Linked DNA regions of Homo sapiens: all the other regions are linked to region 1. The links are contacts of gene promoters, found by promoter capture Hi-C in blood cells and fetal thymus (Javierre and others, 2016). All regions are on one chromosome and are shown on one strand. The core of a region is centred on a gene start or on the middle of the fragment in contact, and the rest is flanking DNA. Distances in the headings are between cores, read along the strand shown.

Region 1 (3,458 bases), core at 353-2,852:
CTTATTATAAATCTGTTTAGTATGGAATACAGTTTAGTATTGAATATCGGGACAGAGTGAACATGTAAGTACATCAATGGGAAGGAACTCCCAGAAACTAATCTGGTTTCCAGCAGAAAGAGATATGAGAGACAAAATAATATAAAGGTAACCTTACTAAGTTTAAGAAATATTTATGAATACCTTTTTTCTAACTACTAGACACTTTGCTAGACTGCTGGATACACAAAGACAAATGAGAAGTGAGTAGATTGCTGGATATACAAGTGAGAAGTGGTCCTTGACTTGGTAGTCTAGTAGACAGATAAAAAAATATGTGTAAGAAAGCATTACATTTCTTACAATAGAAATGTTTTTTGTATGCATAAAGAAGGGGGTGGGCTGGAAAAAGAATGTAGTCAAGGTGACTTGCTCAATACTGAAACTGCTCATTAACTACTTAGGCCAGCACTTATGGCAGACTTGTCAGGATGCCTTGCTAATATTTTCCACTTCCAGTACAGAACAGAGATTACAGGTTTAAGCCAATTTTGTTCAACAGATGAGAAACCCAGTGTCCAAGGATGAAAGAATACTTGTTATACAAGGAATGTGAATATTCCAGAGATTTATGCTCAAAGTCCCCAGGTTAGTGTCTTTCTTTCTCACTAGACTGTAAGCTTCTTGAAGACAAATATCTTGAGTGTTACCTTGCTCACTCTTGAATTGTCAAAACTTGGCCCAGGACTAGGTATGTGGTATACAATCAATAAAAATTTGTTGAATGAATGTTCTTCAAAATCCTTCCATGGCAAAAACAGAAGAAACATTCACGAGTGGACTGCTAGTTGACTGTTTCTCTCATCGCTATTGACAGTCTGAAATGGACAAAGACATCTATATAATCATTCCTTCCTTTCAAATAAATAATCTGTGAATTACGCTATTCTTTTCCTATTGCTTCAGGACAAGCTATTTGACAGAAAGCTTTTAAGAAAGGCTTTGCAAGAAAACTCTGCAACAGAGATGGCACGTATGAATTGCTGTGATCTGGAGTTGAAGACAAGAACAAAAGTAACTCTAGAGCAGAATTCTTTGACCAAAGTCATCTTACTGGTTGGCGGAGGCTCTCAGTCTACTTGCATCCGGTGCTTGAGAGTTCAGACAGGCAAAGATGAGAGGTAGCATCTAGTCAACATCCATTTCTTGAGCACTTACTACATGTCAGCCACTTTGCTTAGTCCCCGGTTTTACTGTGCTCTGCTAGGAAGTGGTGAAGAGATTCGGCGGGATCTTCTTAGGACCAATCCTACAAAGTTCCAGATGGAACTCATTTTGATTTGGGGGACGGTTTACTTGCAGGGATTAGGTGGAGAAACAGGGCCTGCTACTCAAGAGGAATGAGAAACTGTAACTAACAGGAGGTAGACTGGGAAGGAGCATGGCAAAGTCACCCCTTTTCACAGGGCAACGCTCCAAAGACCACGCTCAAGCTGGGGTGGCAGGGCTCTGAACATGGGGCCCCGACCCGGGCCTCGGCCTGGGGCCACGTGACGCGCGTGTTTACGTTGAGTGACGGGCGCTGTGTTGGGCGGGCCTTGGCGGAAATCAACTTCCGGGGGCAGAGGTGTTCGAAGCCGGGTGGTGCGTGGGCTACCCCAACCTGTGTGGCTGGGCCGCGGTCTCCCCTCAAGGGCCTGGGGCCGTGCCTCGGGTGTACGCGTAGGGGTCTGTGTGCTGGGGGTGGCTCACCGGGCAGCGTGGGTGAGCGGCGCAGCGGCGGCAGCGGAGAGCGAGAGAGGGGAGCAGGTAAGTGAACGCTCGCCTTCCGGGGCCTGGGTCTTGGGGTCGGGGCCGCGCGAGGCGAGCGGAGAGCGCCCCACCGGGGGAGGAGCGCGGACGAGCTTCCGCCGCCTGCAGCCCGCCTGCTGCGGCCTCGCCCTTGGCTGTCGCAGCGACCAGGAGTCAGGGGGCGTGACCAACCTCCTGCGGGAACGGAGCCAGCTCCCGGGGGTGGGAGTGCCCACTCGTTCCTGCGCTCGCCGGTGGGTACCGGTATCTGCACGTCCCAGAATCGAGTGTTTTCGAAAGTCTACGCCCACGAACACGTGATTATTGTGTCACCGAAGCGCCTACCGAACGGAGACCTTGATTCTTGCTTAGATTACACAGAACGCGCCTGGTTTATGTATCCCCTTTTACTTTGCCAAGTACATTGGGGTAAAAGCTCTACAGCGTCTGCCAGCCACATTTCCTTAGAGTTTCTTGGGCCACATGTTGCAATAAAAGTGGCATTTCAGGGTCAAGGCAGGAGCCAGTAACTTTGCCAAGTGGTGAGGTATCCTTCGTCCCCGTTAGCACGCCTCCCTTTCCCAACAATAAAGATATTTTCTCCATCTGCGCGTGTCGCCTACTGCGGAGGAAAGCTTTGGACATGAAACCTATTTTTGGCTTCACTTTAAGGAGTGGAACTCTATTAAAAGCTGCGCTGGTGTTTTTTTGGTAGGATGATGTTGCTGCTGCTACTCTCACTTGCTTCCTTGATGAGAGTTGGGGCAGAGCTCGATTTCCTGGAGGGTAAAGTCTTGGCCACAATTTTAGGTGACTCAGCGGCCCCTTATGAATTCTGACTCTTTCCTTCCCTCCCCTCTCAGCTGTGCGGATACTGATGCCACCTTTCTCTCCAAATATTAATCCGGGTGGGAGTTGGATGATGGTTTTTGGAAGCAGTTTGCATGTTGCGTGGTGGAGTTATTGGAGTGGGCTGACATTTTACTTCACAATTTAAGGCAACCCTTCCCCCCCCCACAATATTTAGTTGGGTGGGGTGACAGGGACTGACAACAAATTCGCTGTTGTGTTCCCTGCTGTCGGAGAGTTCTACACTTAATGATCACCTGATTGCCCTCTGCTACAATTTCTATTGCGTTGAGGGGATTGGTTATACTGTCTGTACCTATTAGGTAAATGTAGTAAGGGTCATGCCAGGCAGAGTGCACCTGCATGGTGTTGGCTAACCAGTAAACTGTGTGGTAGAGAATTGCCCTGGTTACGAAGTTTGGTATCCTCCAGGCTGCCTAGGAGGGTGTTCTGTGGGCTGGGAAATCTTATGAACTGGTTTCCTAGCAACAGTATAAGCCCAATGGAATAAACATAAAGAAAACAAAGTGATGAAAGTTACAACTTACCTCTTAACTTTTATTAAATGGAAAAATGTAGCTTCTTATTGGAGTGATCCACTCAAAACTTCTGAGACATTTTTGTTTATTTTGATCATCTTAGTACTTAATAACACACAAAAGAAACTGCAGAAAATCATTCCAGAGGGACATCACTTTGGTTTTGGGTGGCATTAAAATAGAGAAAAAAGACGTTTAAAAATGAGCTTGTCTGGAGCTTAAATGGACAAACAGGAATTTGGTGTAATAGGCATTTTATGTTGTACTCTTATCTATATGTGTCAGATGTATGCATTACAT
Region 2 (3,458 bases), core at 688-3,187, 6.7 Mb before region 1:
TTGAGTTTCATGTAACCAAACACCTTTAACCTAAAAAATAAAAATTCTGTGGGAAGAGGTATGGCATTAATGGTTAAGCACATGAGCTTTGGATTCAAAAGACCTTGGTTCGAATGCTTATCTAGAAGTGTGGCTTTAGGCAACTTAAGTCAACTCTCTAAACTTCAATTTCCTCCATCTTTAAAAAGATGTAATTATACCTGCATTCCAGTAGTATTGGAAGTATTAAGTTATATATAAGGTATGTGAAGCACTTCATAAGGCCTAATTCGTGGTAAATTCTCAGTACATAGTAGGTGTCTTTCCATATACCTTCCTTTCTAAAAACATCTCAGAATTTTTATGTAATCATCAAGGTTATTTGTGAAATGATAGAAATTAGTCATCTTCAACTAACAAAGCTGCCGATGTTTAATCCTAACTACTAAATAGTTATTTAATAGAATTTTACTTGCTCTTTTGTCCATATTTTCCTCTATGAAATTATGTCCACTATCCAAATAGTTAATTTGGTAAATTCTCTTAAGGCCTTTGATCATGAAAGTATCAGCCTCAAATTTTCATAGGAATGTGTGTTGAATTCACTTAACTGGTGTATTTATAGACCAGGTACCTGAATTATTTTAGACTAACTTTGGGAACAAAAGGTGTCTGCAATGGAAGACACTAGTTATCAGGAAATTGAGCAGGTGGGGAATGTAGAAAAAGCTAAAGTTGATAAAAGTTTTCAAGTTATCAGAACATTTTATATGACTTAAGAGTTTTTTAAGTAGCTGTGACCTAGATTTTAGCTTTCTGGAGCTGAGGCAAAAAAGTTAAGCAATAGATCAGAAATCAGTGATAGGGTATTTTAAATTGTGCTTCTAAAAATACGGTGGCTTCTACTCTGACTCATCTGTATGCAGATTGTGCTTCTAACTAAACTACGGATTAATGGCTATTTTCTAGAATCAAAACTAAAATGATCAAGGAGGTAACTTAGTGAATTGTGCTTTATAACATTAATAGAAGAGTACATCTGTCACCTTAGAAGTTAAGACTTTTCATACTAAAAAAATAAGACCTAGAGAATGCACAGTCAATAAAAGTATTAATTTTATATACAAGATAAACATAGACTTTAAAGCTTACACCTCGTCTACCACTGTATATTCAGTACCTGGAACAGTTCCTTGCATCTGGCAGTTGATCAACAATTCTTTGTTTTTTAATGAAACTAATGAAACATGAAAAACCTAGAATATTAATATTAGGTAAAACAGTATTCTTTGAAACTTCGGAGAGGTGATTTTAGGACTCTAGACCAAATATTTAAGTAGATTTATAGTTTAGGTAAATTTGTAGATAAGTCCATAATAAGTAATCAAGAAATTAAAAGTGATGCCTGACCTTCTGAAAATTTGGTTTTGAGAATACTGGTACCATGATTTTCGAAATATTTCTTGTTGCCATTGTGACAAGCAGTATATAATTGGATAAAGGATATTGATTGTGCGGACCTACCATAACATTTCTAATGCAGTAAAGAAGGAATCAATTTTAAGAGGAAGAAAGAACTACAGATATTGTGCATTTAAATAATAATTATAGAATGTGAAAGGAGATAAGTAATTAAGGAAACCTATACATTTATGTCTGATGCGAGAGAGCTTTTCAGGAGGAAAAAAACAAATTACATATTAAAACCAAAGGTTTAGAATCCCGATTTATCTTTTTTATTATAGCTATGTCTGAGAAATGCTATCTCCCATATAAGGCTTAGAAATTTTCATTCATGTTTTAAATTTTGAAATAATTTGCTGATAATTAATTTGTTATAAGAGCTAAATAAATGTCATTATGAAGTTAACCTGCAATGTTGGGTACCTGTTTTCTTATACCTATGAAAGGAAAACTGGAAAATTTTCTTAGTTTACAGGGATGTTAATGTGACTTTAATTTTTCTCTACCCTTAACCATATACCTTATATTGCAGAAATTGGAATGGGATTAACAGGATTTGGAGTGTTTTTCCTGTTCTTTGGAATGATTCTCTTTTTTGACAAAGCACTACTGGCTATTGGAAATGTGAGTTTTTAAATATATATTTTAACTAAATTTATAAGGAAATTTTAACTACGAATGAATTATTATCTGCTATTAAATTTGGGGAAAATAATTCACTATTACTCATAAGTAATTCCTGTTACATTCTCTATTTCCATCAGGAATGAAACCTGTCAGCTTTCTGTTTAAATAAAAGGTAAACACTTAATGAGGTTTTCTAATTCCATAACTACTCTGTTAAGTGTTTGTCATGAGATTTACAATAGATTAAATGAAGGCTGCCTCTAAATAGGAGTTCAAAATAGATGACTTGATAGTTTCATGTCTTGATAAATCACTAAAGTATTTTTACTTTAAACATCCAAGACTTCACATTTGATTCAGCTGCATAAGATAGATTTTTTTAACCTTTTTAAAAATATATATTTCTATGTTAATGGTTGACTTGCTTAGAAAGGGATCTATGTTGTTTATTTGGAATGTGTACTATGCTATTCATGTGTGGAGGTTATGATCCAGAAATAAATAATAACCCTTCTAAGGTAGTGAAGACACTGTATGTGTGTGTGTGTGTATATATATATATACACACACACATATATATTTGGGCTTTTAACTGGAAATGGGAAAAGATAAAGAATAGCAAAATTGTTCAAAATTGATGTCTTAATAAATGATAATAGCATTAGTATCCTAGAATATGAAGCTTAACCATTAGGCTTAATATGTATTTGTGCGAAATATTTTTCACTAAAGAATGTTAATGGGGAGGGCAAGTATTTGGAAAGAAAACCTGGGGAAAGCAAGCTCTTAATCCATCACCATTTCTTGTCCACAGAATACATTCAAAATATTTGAAAACACATGGTTGTATTTTTATTTCTGCTGCCACCAGATATTCTAGAATTTATAAAACTAGAATCTTCTTGGCTTCACGTTGTTTCTTCTGCTATCAACTTAGCCATGTCAATATTTCTCCCATCCATAGAAACTCCTGTAGCCTATGATGAATATTTCAGAACCAAGAGGAATACCCTTGGGTGACATATTTATGGGCAGCTTTCCTCTTTATGCCTTGCCAACTCATCTGCTTGACTAAGCCTTCCTCATCCAGCTAAAACTAGGAAAACTACTGCAGACACAGATGCCCCTTGGTAACGTCTAATCTTTCTTTGTTTCTCTTTTTCTCCATTTAATCAAGATAGAAGAGGAATGAGACAAGTGGAACAAAGCTACAACTTTAAAATGCATAACCCACTCCTTGGTTCTGCTGCTTGGTTGTACATTACAGTTCTGTCTGGCCAGTTGCCCACATTAAAAGCCAAACAAATGTGCTTCTTTTTTTATATTTAGCTTTGACTTTACGTTTAAAATTTATGCATTGTGTTTAATTACCTTTTCCGTGTTGTATT
Region 3 (3,458 bases), core at 460-2,959, 5.6 Mb before region 1:
GACAAAAATTCCTTCTATGGCAGGAATATTGTTCACATAAGTGAGAAATTGAACTCCTACAGAGAAAACGACTTCCTCAAAATAAAAATCTAAAAAAATCGCTTGCTTTTTGGACTAGAGAAACTTTTATCAATTCAAACTATGTCAAAGGAATAGGGGTCATAGATCCCATGCGAATTTCCTTAGGTCCACCTGCAGCTTTTTCTGGAGTCTGACTCTGCCCTTAAAATACCCTTGCCAGAATTCTGAAGGTTGGCTACACTATGTGATCAACGTTTTTTATTTATTTATTTATTTAGAGACAGGGACTCACTCTGTGTCCCACACTGGAGTGCAGTGACATGATCATAGCTCACTACAGCCTCAATCTTCTGGGCCAAGCGATCCTCCCACCTCAGCCCCCCAAGTTCCTGGGACTACAAGCACATACCACCATGCACCGCTAGTTTTTTAAATTTTTTGAAGAGATGGAGTCTCCCTGTATTGCCCAGGCTGGTCTCAATCCTGGTTTAAGCCATCCTCCTGCCTTGACCTCACAAAGTGGTGGGATTACAGGCATGAGCCATCTTGCCCGGCATGATCAGTGTTTTTTGTTGTTTTGGGTGGTAGAGTTGAAGTCGTTTTTGTGGTGAAATCGAAGTATTACCGTATTACCAACTCATTTTTTAAAATATGAAATGTATAAAGAAAAAATATTAGAAAATTGAAGTTTAGCACCAATATTAATGGAAAATAATGCATTGTGTTCCAAAATGTAAAAAGTTGCAAATTGCACAATTAGAGGTTAGCAATCTCAGCCTCCTAATTAGTAGACTTTGAGGTACTTGTACGTACTTGTTGCCTTAGGCTTCATCAACAAGAGATTATAATTAAGATGCTTCCTGAAAACTATTTTTAGTAGATTTAAGCCTGACTTCAGTTGAACTGTTTCCTAATAATTGTTCTCGTTTGTTTTCATTAATGCTGGGAACAGTGCTAACTTTCTGACAAATCTACCATGATGTGACTCCTGATTACCTTGTTTAGCTTCATACCCTGACACTCTTTTTGCATTTTAAATTATCAATAACAAGAATTAACGTGTATTGATGGTTTGCCGCACACCAGCTACTGAATTCAGCGTTTCACAGCTGTTAAGGCTCCCTAAAATCCTGAGGTAGGAATTATCAGCCTTCATTTTATAAATGAGAAAATTATGGCTTTTCAAAGCTCTGGTGATTACCCAAGGTCACAAAGCTTCTAATGATAGAGGCAGGTTTTAAATCTAGACAATGTGATTCCAAGAACTCACGTCTTTGAAGATTACATGTAGTTTTCTAATAAACTATACTTTTCCTTCTTCCTGGAGTATCTCTCTCATAGTCATCCTACCAAATAGCTATGAATTCATAACTCAGTTCAAAAGTCAATACTCTGGTTTCTCTTTAGAGTGTATAAATCTTTTGCCTTTTACAAAAGTCACTTCTACATCTTCTCTAATCTCCTTCCTAATAAATATGCTCTTCACTCCCACCTATGCTACTACTAAATCTAATACATTTGTTATTATACTTTCCATGCAATAATTATTTATCCATCTCTCTCCCCCCCAACCCCCACTAAACCATGAGCACTCTGAGGGAATGGATTGCTTCTCACTCATCTCTCAATTCTCAGTTCTTTGTCCTGTGCCCTTCATGTGATCAACAAATTATTGTGGAATTAAATTAACAGTTAACACTTGCTATTACTACTTAGATTGCTCTTCTTTCCTGGCTTCCTAAAATGTTCCTGTTAATCTTTCCCATTCTTTCAGGTTAAATTACTCAAGGGTTGTCAGTACTTGGTGCCCTCTCCTCACTTCCTAAGCGCTCCAAAAACTATTAATATCTGGGTTTAGCCACCACCACTCTACAAAAACAGCTTTCACTAATGCCATCAATAACCTCTGGTTGCTAAATGCAATGAACACTTTTTTTAGTTTTAAGTTTTTATTTTTGAGATGGGGTCTTGCTGTGTTGCCCAGACTGGTCTCAAACCCTTGGGTTCATGCAGTCCTTCTGCCTCAGGCTCCCAAGTTGCTGAGACTACAGGCACGTGCCACCATGCCTGGCTTCAGTTTTTTATTTACGTGACTCTCAGTAGCATTTGATGCTGTTGACCACGCTGTCCTTAAAATAATCTTCCTCTTGGTATTCAGAAACCAAGCTTCTCTTACCTATTCTGGTTTATACATCTGTCTTCTCAGCCTACTCATTGTCCTTAACTATTAAATATGTGTTTTTCTCAGGTTCAGTTTTTGTCTCTATTCTCTTCCAACTGTACTGTCTCCCTAGGTGATCTCATCCAAGCTCACAATTTTAATTTCCATCTGTTTAGTCAGGGACTCTCAAATCGTTATCTTTAGTCTGTAACTCGCTTCTGGGATCTTGACCCATATATGCAACTGCCAAGTTACTATTTCCATTTGGAGTATCAAAGTGACCTCAAAAGTCAAGATGTCCAAAAGTGACCTCAAAAGTCAAGATGTCCAAAACTGACCTGATTTTCTTTACCTTTCCCATAACTACAACAACGAGAATGACAACAACAACAACAAAAGACCTGGTAGTCTTCTACTAAACAGCAATGCCAACTACATAGTCAATTGCTCAAGCCAGAAACTCACTGATTTAAGTTTGAAAGTGGGCTGGGATTACAAGTATAATTATACAAATGACAACTTGGGCTCAGTTCAGTTACTTTTGCTTTGATTTTTTTTTTTCCTTTGGGCCAGGGTCCCACTCTGTTACCCAGGCTACAGTGCGGTGGCAAGATCACAGTTCACCACAGCCTCAACCTCCCAGGCTCAGGTGATCCTCCAACCTTAGCCTCCTGAATAGCTGGGACTGCAGGCGCACACCACCACATCTGGCTAATTTTTATATTTTAGTAGAGATGAGGTCTCCCCATGTTGCCCAGGCTGATCTCGAACTCTTGGGCTCAAGTGATCTGCCTGCCTCATCCTCCCAAAGTGCTAGGATTGCAGGTGTGAGCCACCATGTGGCTCACTTTTGCTTTGATTAAGGAGTAAAAATGAGATAAGTAGGCATCTAGGTAAACTCATCATCTTATTAGTTCCCTTGTATCTTAATGTACCATGGGCATAAGGTACCATACCATACTTAATGTACCATGGGCATAAGGACTGCATCAAGTAAAATATTCTCTAAATTGGAAGATTATTGCAGTGGAACACATTGCTTTTTTTGGGAGTTTTGCTCTTGTTGCCCAGGCTGGAGTGCAATGGTGTGATCTCTGCTCACTGCCGCCTCCGCCTCCCAGGTTCAAGTGATTGTCCTGACTCAGCCTCTCGAGTAGCTGGGATTACAGGCACCTGCCACCACACCCAGCTTATTTTTGTATTTTTAGTAGAGATGGGGGTTTCACCATGTTGGTCAAGCTGATCTCGAACTCCTGACCTCAGGTGATCCACCCAG
Region 4 (3,458 bases), core at 564-3,063, 5.6 Mb before region 1:
AAATAGATAAGAATCATACCTCACATTTCAGAGGAAGTATGTATTATATAGTCGACAGAGTATAATGTAATTTTAGAGCAGTCGAGTATCAGTAATGTAGCCTGTTTTTTTCTCAGTTTTTTTCTAACATTTTTGTATGTTTAAGATATACTTTAAATGTACTTTAGAAACTTACTGTAGTAATACTTATCTGGTGATTGATTATTCCTGCAAGCTGAACTATCCAGAGCATATCAGAAAATAAAAAGAAAAAAACAAGCTAAAAAAGACTTACTAGAGTCAAAATGATAGAAGGCCCAGTCTTTGCTCAGAATTTGTGGGTACATGGAGTAAATATATCTCATTTTAGACAGAATTCCTGTTCTTACTAGATTAAAAGAATAAATTATAAAGGAGATGGTGAGGTTTTCGGAGTATAGTAGCAGAATAGGCAGAGTAAATCTAAAACAACAATACAGCCACAGTGCTTTGTATTTAATAATCCTTTACTGTTTATAAAGCACTTTCACATGCATTCTCCCAACTATCCTGTGAGGTAGATGTAGACGGTACTGTTAATATGTATCATATAGTTAATGAAACTGAATTTGCCGTTTACAAATGGCAGATCTGAGATGATAAACCATCTTATGAATTATTGTTCTATGACCAAGAGTTTTGTTTGTATATTATGATTTAGGCAGGGAAGGTGCTTCTGTATAAAATTAATTTCTTAAAAGCTTTGGCTCATAAAAAGATTCTGCTTTAAAGTTCCCTTGAACATAAATTTGCATTACTTTTTTCATATGTGACACCATTTTAGGAAAAAGGGATTACTTAAGCTTTCCTTCACGAGTTACTTTTGTTGTGTAACAACTGTTTAACTTATTTGAAGATTTTGATTTTTAATTTTTATACTTTTCTTTGGAGAGTCATCGTATAAAGGAATAAAGAATCAAGTCAGATCTCAGGTCCATAATAATTCTCAACGGACTCTTAAAATTGTTTTTCATTTTCTGAAGAGCTGATGAATTAGTGTTTGGAATATTCCAGTTATGTTGTCTCAGGGTCTTTCTGTTTGCAGTATTAAGCAACGTTGTTTTTCTCACTAACTTGTCACTATGAATTTTTCCATTACTTGGGACTTATAGTAGATAATGGCAAAGGCTTCATAGGTAGGAATTAATACCGTAATTATTATTTAACATTACAAAACTAATATATTTATTCCTTTGTTGGGTCTAAATGAGATTGCTTGCTATATGGTACCTTATAGCAACTTAGCTTTTCAATAACAGTGTGTTACAGTGCTCAAGAGCATGGGGTTTGAACACAGTGCTAGTTTTGAGTCCAGATTCTATACTTTACTAGCTTTGTTACTCTGGTCAAATCATTAAACTTCCTGTCTCAGTATCCTGAGCTGTAAAATTGATCCAGTAGTTGTCCCTACCTCAATGGGTTATTGTGAGGGTAAAATAAATGCTGTCTTTCATGATAATTATTATTGCTGCTGAGCACCTACTATATATTGGATACTTGAATCAAAAAACAAATATTTGCTCTTTGAAATTCCTAGTCCGATGGGGAAGACAAATAAGAAAATTATAACAACGTAATGTTTATGGAATGAACATTCAAATTTAGTTCACATGCAAAGATTACCCAAGAAGTTTAAAAAATGTACTGTTCTTTCTGCTTTACTACAGGTTTTTGCCTGTTATTGAATGCATATTTTAAAAAATCTTTTCATCATTTTTTTAAGCATATGTATTCTATCATGGAAATTAATCTTTGTGTTAGGTTGTGTAGCTACACAGCAGTTTTCATATCCTTCCTCTTTCTAACAGTGTTGGAGGTAGTTACCTAAATAATCTATTAAAAACCTGTAACTCCTCTTAATATTGATAGTTGATATTTTATATTGGTCTTTGCCTTAAAGGAAGAAGAAAAAGCCAGATCTATACAATTGCTGTGTTAAGTTATGTCTCCACTAGTGTTCTGATATAATAATTGATTTTCTTTTCTGTTTTTAAAAAGATGAGTTTGTTCCTTTAAGCAGTAGCTTCTGAAAAGTCTTAGGTAAGCTAATGTAGTAAGTTACGGCTAATTTTTTAATATATTAAAAAAGTAAACAATATATTAGTTTACTTTCCCTAAGATTATAGGAAATCTTGAGTCCTGTAGATACAAATAAGGAGTCATGGTTTATATTCAGTGTAACTTTTAATGTTAGTGATTACATCCAGTTTTCTGTTTCCTATTCCCTCCCTGTCTTCAGCATTTTAGAATAATAAAGTATATAATGTTTAATAGACGCCCATCAAAAACATGAAATATTTGTTAGGCTCCCATGTATTTTATTAAGATGTGACTATGAAGACAGGAGCCTAAAGTGCTAGTTTGTTTTCCTGTATAATAGCCATGTAACTTGGACTACACAAACTGCGTCACATCTTTTTGGGGACTGAGCATAATGTGGAAAGAGGATGGTTTTTGAATATTATTTCCAGCCATTTATAACCTTTGGCAAGTTTTAAAGTCTCTATAAAATGGTATTACCTTGGAAAGTAGTCATGAGAATTCAATGAAATACCTACAATTACGCATCGCATGTTTTGGTACTACGTTCTTCCACCTCTCATTTCCAATTCTCCCATCCCAACTGAGAGAATTGTGAGCTCCTAAAATTCAGTAATTCTGACATGTGTTTTTTGTACTAGCTGTAATGCTAGTTTTCAGTAAGAGTCCTTGTACAACTAACTGTAGCACAAGGTAGGCATAGAAGAACGTAGGACAGAAGGCTTCATAGAGGTGGGGGTACCTGAGCTAAGCTTTGAAGGGTAGATGAGATCAGATTGAAAAGGGAAACATTTCTGAGCAAGGAAAACTATCTCACAAAGGCAATGAAGCTAGACTTTGAGTAGCTTACTCATCATTTAGGACATCATGGGAAGCCACTGGATATTTTTCTTTTTGTATTTTATTTTATTTTATTTTATTTTTTTTGAGACAGAGTCTCGCTGTAGCCCAGGCTGGAGTGCAGTGGTGTGATCTCAGCTCACTGCAACCTCCGTTTCCCAGGTTCAAGTGATTCTCGTGCCTCAGCCACCCAAGTAGCTTGGATTACAGATGTGCGCCACCATGCTCAGCTAATTTTTGTATTTTTAGTAGAGTCGGGGTTTCACCATGTTGGCCAGGCTGGTCTCGAATGCCTGACCTCAAGTGATCCACCCACCTCGGCCTCCCAAAATACTGGGATTACAGGCATGAGCCACCGCACCTGGCCTGGATATTTTTAAGCAGGTAAATTATATCATGTATTAGAGAAGTGACAGGCAACAATGTAGAGAAGGGTTGTTTGAGGGAAATGTTTTAAATTGGGAAATAATGATCACTCAGGACATTGGTTTTGAAACTAGTGGTTACCATACATTAATAGGATGCCAAATCAATATAGTGTCTTGAGACCATTACAGTTT

The links. The method cuts DNA at HindIII sites, captures the fragments that hold promoters and counts their contacts. A CHiCAGO score of 5 or more calls a contact.
Region 2: a contact is called between a fragment that was not itself captured here and the fragment with the promoter of CCDC91 in region 1, in 1 of 17 cell types (naive B cells). The highest score is 7.0, in naive B cells.
Region 3: a fragment that was not itself captured here is called in contact with the fragment with the promoter of CCDC91 in region 1 in 3 of 17 cell types (naive B cells, fetal thymus and non-activated CD4 T cells); the score reaches 6.5 in naive B cells.
Region 4: a fragment that was not itself captured here is called in contact with the fragment with the promoter of CCDC91 in region 1 in 2 of 17 cell types (total B cells and fetal thymus); the score reaches 7.0 in total B cells.

Annotation. Positions count from the first base shown.
Region 1 is chr12:28,188,854-28,192,311 of GRCh38, forward strand. CCDC91 (coiled-coil domain containing 91) reads left to right here and starts at 1,603. Exons shown (of 13, transcript NM_018318.5): 1 at 1,603-1,788. LOC729291 (a long non-coding RNA gene) reads right to left here and starts at 1,885. Exons shown (of 1, transcript NR_148936.1): 1 at 1-1,885. RefSeq lists silencers at 1,570-1,619, 1,650-2,079, 2,763-3,057. The HindIII fragment of the contact is 1,439 bases long and covers 965-2,403 here.
Region 2 is chr12:21,504,910-21,508,367 of GRCh38, forward strand. GOLT1B (golgi transport 1B) reads left to right here. Exons shown (of 5, transcript NM_016072.5): 2 at 1,976-2,067. Among named protein-coding and RNA genes, the nearest start is that of GOLT1B, 4.8 kb to the left of the region's middle. The HindIII fragment of the contact is 1,626 bases long and covers 1,125-2,750 here.
Region 3 is chr12:22,546,147-22,549,604 of GRCh38, forward strand. No RefSeq gene overlaps it. Among named protein-coding and RNA genes, the nearest start is that of C2CD5, 3.3 kb to the left of the region's middle. The HindIII fragment of the contact is 951 bases long and covers 1,235-2,185 here.
Region 4 is chr12:22,627,646-22,631,103 of GRCh38, forward strand. The region is part of intron 1 of ETNK1 (ethanolamine kinase 1); the gene reads left to right. Among named protein-coding and RNA genes, the nearest start is that of ETNK1, 4.2 kb to the left of the region's middle. The HindIII fragment of the contact is 1,989 bases long and covers 820-2,808 here.